Regions from separate parts of the Homo sapiens genome. Here region 2 is linked to region 1. Evidence: promoter capture Hi-C in human tissues and cell types (Jung and others, 2019). All regions are on one chromosome and are shown on one strand. Each heading gives the region's core, a stretch centred on a gene start or on the middle of the fragment in contact. The rest is flanking DNA. Distances are from core to core; before and after follow the strand shown. Region 1 holds the start of MYPOP (Myb related transcription factor, partner of profilin). Region 2 has its middle 26 kb from the start of PNMA8B.

The links. Contacts are between HindIII fragments. The study calls those that stand out against the background at their distance.
Region 2: a fragment that was not itself captured here is called in contact with the fragment with the promoter of MYPOP in region 1 in 2 of the 25 tissues and cell types used here (lymphoblastoid cells and mesendoderm cells).

The regions. Positions count from the first base shown.
Region 1 is chr19:45,901,228-45,904,080 of GRCh38, forward strand. MYPOP (Myb related transcription factor, partner of profilin) reads right to left here and starts at 1,386. Exons shown (of 3, transcript NM_001012643.4): 1 at 1,343-1,386; 2 at 48-598. The coding sequence starts at 546. RefSeq lists enhancers at 1,149-1,198, 1,629-1,738 and silencers at 1,389-1,438, 1,999-2,078. The HindIII fragment of the contact is 9,891 bases long and covers 1-2,853 here.
Region 2 is chr19:46,520,416-46,523,579 of GRCh38, forward strand. It overlaps the pseudogene PPP5D1P. Among named protein-coding and RNA genes, the nearest start is that of PNMA8B, 26 kb to the left of the region's middle. RefSeq lists a silencer at 1,675-1,854. The HindIII fragment of the contact is 3,757 bases long and covers 1-3,164 here.

The sequences.
Region 1 (2,853 bases), core at 136-2,635:
AAGGCTTGCAACAGCGCAGGCACACAGCCTACTCTGAAGACACTCACCTGCACGTCGGTCCTCCCGGCGGTCTTCCGACAACACGTAGCGCTGAGGGCAGGCGCTTGGGGGCGGCGGCTGTGAAGAGGGGGCCGCAGGGGGCTCCTCCGCCCCAGCACCTGCCCCCGGCGCCGCCACACCTGGCCCCAGGATGGCAAAAATGGTCTCCTCTTCCGCGGAGAAAGCGTCCTCCGCGGCGGGCCCGGCGCCCTGCGTGGAGTGCGGCACGCGAGCGAGCTTCTCCTTGGTGCGGCGCTTGAAGTCGTTCCAGCGCTTCTGCACCTCCTGGCCCGTGCGCTTCCAGCTGGTGATACCGTTGATCTTGGCGGCGATGCCGTCCCACACGCGCCGCCGCTCTGCCACGCTCACCCGACGGCTCTGCGCGCCGTAGAGCTGCGGGTAGTGGGCGCGCACCTCGCGGATCAGGATCTGGTTCTCTTCGAATGAGAAGCGCGGCTTGCGCAACCGGGTGGTTTCCTCCGCTTCGCCCGCCGCCGCCGAGGCCATGGCGCCCCCCGACGCCGCCGTCCTGCCGTCTGGCGCATGGGGGGCGCCGGCGCTGCGGGCAAAGGGCGCACGGGGCTGGCTGGGGTTCGGGGTCCCCCCGCCGCCGCCTCTCCCAGACCGCCGGGCCGAGAGCTCCTTAGTCCCCGGGGGCAGGAGTGGGGGCGGGGGGCGGGCGGGGGCGACGGGCACCCGGGTAAGTCGGAAGCGCCTAAGAGTAGCTGACACCGGCTGAGCGCTTGGCTCGGACTTCGCGCGGCGCGAAGTGCCACGCTGAAGAGTTGATAGAAATTGGGGGAGGGTCTGGAGGGATGGAAGGAAAGGAGGAAAAGTGCGAGGAGAGGAGGTGTCTGCAGGAGTTAGAGAATGGGGGCACGGGAGGATAGGAAATGGAGGGAGGATGGGGGTGCCTCGGGGGGGTCTTAGATGCATGAAGATAAGGAGATGCGGAAGGGGGGATGCAGCAAGAAGGGGGGAATCTGGAGCAGAGGAGGCGCTCTAGGGGCTCTAGGGGGCAACGGGGCGTCTGTAAGACCGATATGAGAAGGGCCCTTAGAGGGATGTCCAGGAATAATGGTGAGGTGGGAGCTCCTGTATCACTGGAAGAGCTGGAACGATCAAATATTAGGGATCAGGGTCTGCGAGGATTGTGGGGGCTCTGGGGATTGCCAGAAATTAAGGGGAGCTCTGGAAATAACGGGGGTCCCGTATCACAAGGAGACAACGGAGGCTACGGGGGACGGCAGGGAGAGCGAAGGTCGCGGAGGGTGGGGACCGAGTCGGGCCACGGGTCACTCACCGGCTCCGCCGCAGCCGCCGGTGGGTCAGGGCTCGGGCTTCTGCGGCCTGTTCCCACCCCCCGCCTCCCTCCCTCCCCTCTTTCGGCCCCGCCTCCGGCCGCCCCGCATGCCAAGGCGCAGGCGCGCCCAGGGCCAGTCGGCCCCAATGCCCTTACCGCCAGGGTTTCATTCCCACCTACCCCAGCACAGCGCAGGCGCAGAACTGCGCTCCGCCGAGCCCCACCAGCAGGCCGCAACTGCGCAGCCGCAACGTTAGCGCCGCGCGGGTACCCCAGCTTCCTGGGGCCACAACGGCGCACGCGCAAAAACTCCATCGCGCGCATGCGCGTGCCTCGGGTTGTACCCGGTACCGGGTCTCGGCGCAGGCGTTGCGAGCTTGGATGGGAGAGATGCTGGGAGCGCGCCAGTACCCAACCTTTCGGACAGTCTTCCAGCCCACCCTGCCCTCTAACCAAAGGGGAGGGAGACAGCGCTGAAGGGAAGCGCTTTGTCTCCTTGACAACTGTGTGGGTGGGGTGGAGGCGTGAGGAAACCGCTTTGCCTCCTGGCTTGCCCGCCCCTGCGCTGGGCCGCTCCAGAGCTTCCCACCTCGCACCCCTAGAGGCTGGGCGTCCTGGGGATGTCCCGCCCCGGGCGGATGCAGTAACCATAGCGACCCACAAGCCTTCCAGTCACGCCTTGGGGGCCCCTCTGTGCGCACCTTTACCTCGAGGAGCGGGGAAAATAAGAGGGAAGAGCTTCCTGGCTGGTAGGAAGGGAGATCCTGACGCCGGCACGACTTTAAGCAAGTGCATGGAGACAGGAATGAAGCCAGAACGCAGGTGGGGTGAGCCGCATGGCAGGATGATGGAGCTCAGTCCGGCTGAGAAGTGTGTTCGTTAGCATCCTGCAGGAGTCCTCAAGGTCATTCGACAATTGGTGCTTCATTCATCGACTCAATAAATATACATGAGCACTTACACAGTTCCTGGTACAATGAACATAAAAGCTAAAATCCGTAGCCTGGGCCGGGCGCGGTGGAGCTCACGCCTGTAATCCCAGCACTTTGGGAAGCCAAGGCGGGCGGATTACCTGAGGTCAGGGGTTCGAGACAAGCCTGGCCAACACAGTGAAACCCCATCTCTACTGAAAATACAAAAACTAGCTGGGCATGGTGGTGCATGCCTGTAATCCCAGCTACTCGGGAGGCTGAGGCACGAGAATCGCTTAACCCCGGGAGGCAGAGGTTGCAGTGAGCTGAGATTGCACCACTGCACTCCACCTGGACGACAGAGTGAGACTCCGTCTCAAAAAAAAAAAAAAAAAAAATACATGCCTGTAGTCCCAGCTACTTGGGAGGCTGAGGCGGGAGGATCGCTTGAGCCCAGGAGTTGCAGGCTGCAGTGAGCTATGATCAGGCCACTGCTCTCCAGCTTGGGCAACAGAGTAAGACCCTGTCTCAAAAGAAGAGAGAGAGAAAAAAAAGGCCCCTCTGCCTGCTGTGTGGAGGGTGGGTGGGAGGGAGCAAGAC
Region 2 (3,164 bases), core at 619-3,118, 620 kb after region 1:
TTTTTTTTATTATATGTATAAGCACAGGAAAAAACAAATCTGGTAGGACCTGCATCAAAAGGTTAGCAGGGTTCCTCTCTGGGCTGGGGGCTTAAGGGAGGGGTGTCTGCTTCAGCCATATATTGCTGTTCACAACCCGCTAGAGTTTAGGGGCTTCAAACAATGACTTACTAGCATTCAGAGGGTTGACTGCGTGGTTCTGCTGCTGGTCTCTCCCTCGGTCACTTGTGTGGCTAATGTCAGCTGGTAATAGGCTGATTCTCCCCCACACAGCCTCTCTGCATTCACCTGGGCTTTCACTATTTTGTAACCCAGCTTTAGCTTCCTTGCAAGATGGCAGCTGGCATGCACGTGAGTAAGAGTGGGAGTCTCCTGGACTCTTAAGGCCTAGGCTTGAAATTGACGCATCACTCTGCTACATTCTATTGGTCAAAACAAGTCACGAGGCCTGCCCAGAATGGAGGGGAGGGGAAGTAGACCCCCCTGGTGATGGGAGGAGTGATGCGTGTGTACAGGGAAGGGAGGAATTGTTAGTAGCCATCTTTGAAGGCTGCTGACCTCCGTGTCTTTCTTTCTGTGTTTAATAGTATGCCTAGAATAATAATACCACCTAGAATATTATATAATAATGCCTAGAATATTATAGAAAAATAATATCAGACGTATTATTTTTATGATGATAGATATTTTTTTAAATAATGCAATAAATTGTGGGAAACTTGTTGGTTGGACCAAGAATCTACAGAAATAAGTGAAACCTGGCTGGACGCGGTGACTCATGTCTGTAATCCCAGCACTTTGAGAGGCTGAGGTGGGCAGATCACTTGAGATCAGGGGTTCAGGACCAGCCTTGGCCAACATGGTGAAAACCGTCTCTACTAAAAATACAAAAATTAGCCAGGCATGGTGGCAGGCAATTGTAATTCCAGCTACTTGGGACGCAGAGGTGGAAGAATCGCTTAAACCCGGGAGGCGGAGGTTGCAGTGAGCCGAGATCGCGCCAGCCACTGCACTCCAGCCTGGACGATGGAGCGAGACTCTGTCCCTGTCCCGCCCCCTCCAAAAAAAAGACACAGCAAAAGAAAAGACACAGAGAAGAAGAGAAGGCCAGAGACTGGAGCCAAGAGACATCAAGAGCCCCCAGAAGCTGGAGGAGGCAAGAAAGGATTCTCCCATAGAACCTTCAGAGCCAACAAGGCCCTGCTGGCATCTTTGTTTTGAACATCTGGCCTCCGGAACTGTGAGAAAATAAGCGTCTGTTATTTTTAGCCACCAAGTTTGTGAGAATTTATGACAGCAGCTCTAGAAAATGAACACAGACATAGACAGAGAGAGGGAGACTGATCTGAATGTAGATGGAGATGTGGATATAGTTGCAGATAGAGGATAAGCTACCAATAAGGATATAGCAGCCCCTATGGTGTAGGTATAGATTAGGATAGAGCTGTGGGCGTAGACATGGATATAGACATAAACATCAATGTAGACATAGATATTACTGTGGATATAGACATAGAAGGAGATAAAATAGACCTTGAAGGGCCGGGCACGGTGGCTCACGCCTGTAATCCCAGCACTTTGGGAGGCTGAGGTGGGCGGATCACCTGAAGTTAGGAGTTCGAGACCAGCCTGGCCAACATGGTGAAACCCCATCTCTACTAAAAACACAAAAATTAGCCAGACGTGGTGGCCCACGCCTGTAGTCCCAGCTACTCGGGAGGCTGAGGCAAGAGAATCACTTGAACCCGGGAGACGGGGGTTGCAGTGAGCCAAGATCGCACCACTGCACTCCAGCCTAGGCAACAGAGCAAGACTCCATCTCAAAAACAACAAACAAACCGAAAAAACAGACCTTGAGGAAAGCTTGAGGAAGGAATGGGGTCACCTGGGCTAACTATGGGCCATTGCCAACAGGAGGTCACAGCAGATGTCATGGAGACAGCCTCCTACAAACGCTCCACAGCTAAGCTCTTCAGGTTTTCTGGAAAATCCCAAGTATCAGAAATTGCTTTCTTGGTTGGGCACAGTGGCTAATGCCTGTAATCCCAACACCTTGGGAGGCCAAGACAGGAAGATTGCTTGAGGCCAGGAGTTCAAGACCAGCCTGGGCAACATAGCAAGACCTGTCTCTTAAAAAAAAAAAAAAAAAAAAAAGCTTTCTTTCACTCCTCCAGTCATCCTGCTCTTTTCTAGTTTCTGGATAATCAATTTGACCCCCAAAATGTGAAAACACAATTCATTGTTTTCAGTCAAAAGTTGTATTTTTCTTTTCTTTTTGAGACAGAGTCTTGCTCTGTTGCCCAGACTGGAGTGCAATGGCGTGATTATGGCTCACTGTAGCCTTGACCTCCTGGCCTGTAGTGATCCTCCCGTGTTAGTCTGCCAAGGAGCTGGGATTACAGGTGTGAGCCAGGGCACCCAGACTTCAGTATGAAGTTTTCTCTCCCTTCTCTTACCTTTCTCATATAAATCCTGTTTTGCTTTTGAACGTTGACAACAGTCCTATGACCATCTCCCTCCCCTTTGCATGCCAGTGTCCAAAACAAAATCAGATCCAATGAATAAATATTTAAAAGTTTGTTGTCATTAAAAAAAAGTGGGGACAGGGCACAATCCAGGAGACCTCAACCCAGGTAGTAAGAAGCTCAGAGGCATGTTGTTACAGGATGGCTGAGAAAGCAAAAATCAGGAAGTGGTTTAACCTTTACAGTGACTGTCTATACAGTGGAGGTTTCCAGATTGCACGGGACTGGTTAAAAGCAATCCTCTTATATCATTTGGGGAAGGCAACTTAAGTTTCGTTTATGATTATCAGAGGCATTTGTAAGAAATAACCTAAGCTGGCTGGGTGCGGTGGCTCACCCCTGTAATCCCAGCACTTTGGGAGACTGAGGCAGACAGATCACTTGAGGTCAGGAGTTTGAGACCAGCCTGAGCAACATGGTGAAACCCCGTCTCTACTAAAAAAAAAAAAATACAAAATACAAAAATTAGCAGGGCGTGGTGGTGCGTGCCTGTAATCCCAGCTACTTGGCAGGCTGAAGCACAAGAATTGCTTGAACCCCGGAGATGGAGGCTGCAGTGAGCAGAGATCATGCCACTATACTCCAGCCTGGGTCACAGAGCAAGATTCCATGAAAGAAAGAAAGAAAGAAAGAAAGAGA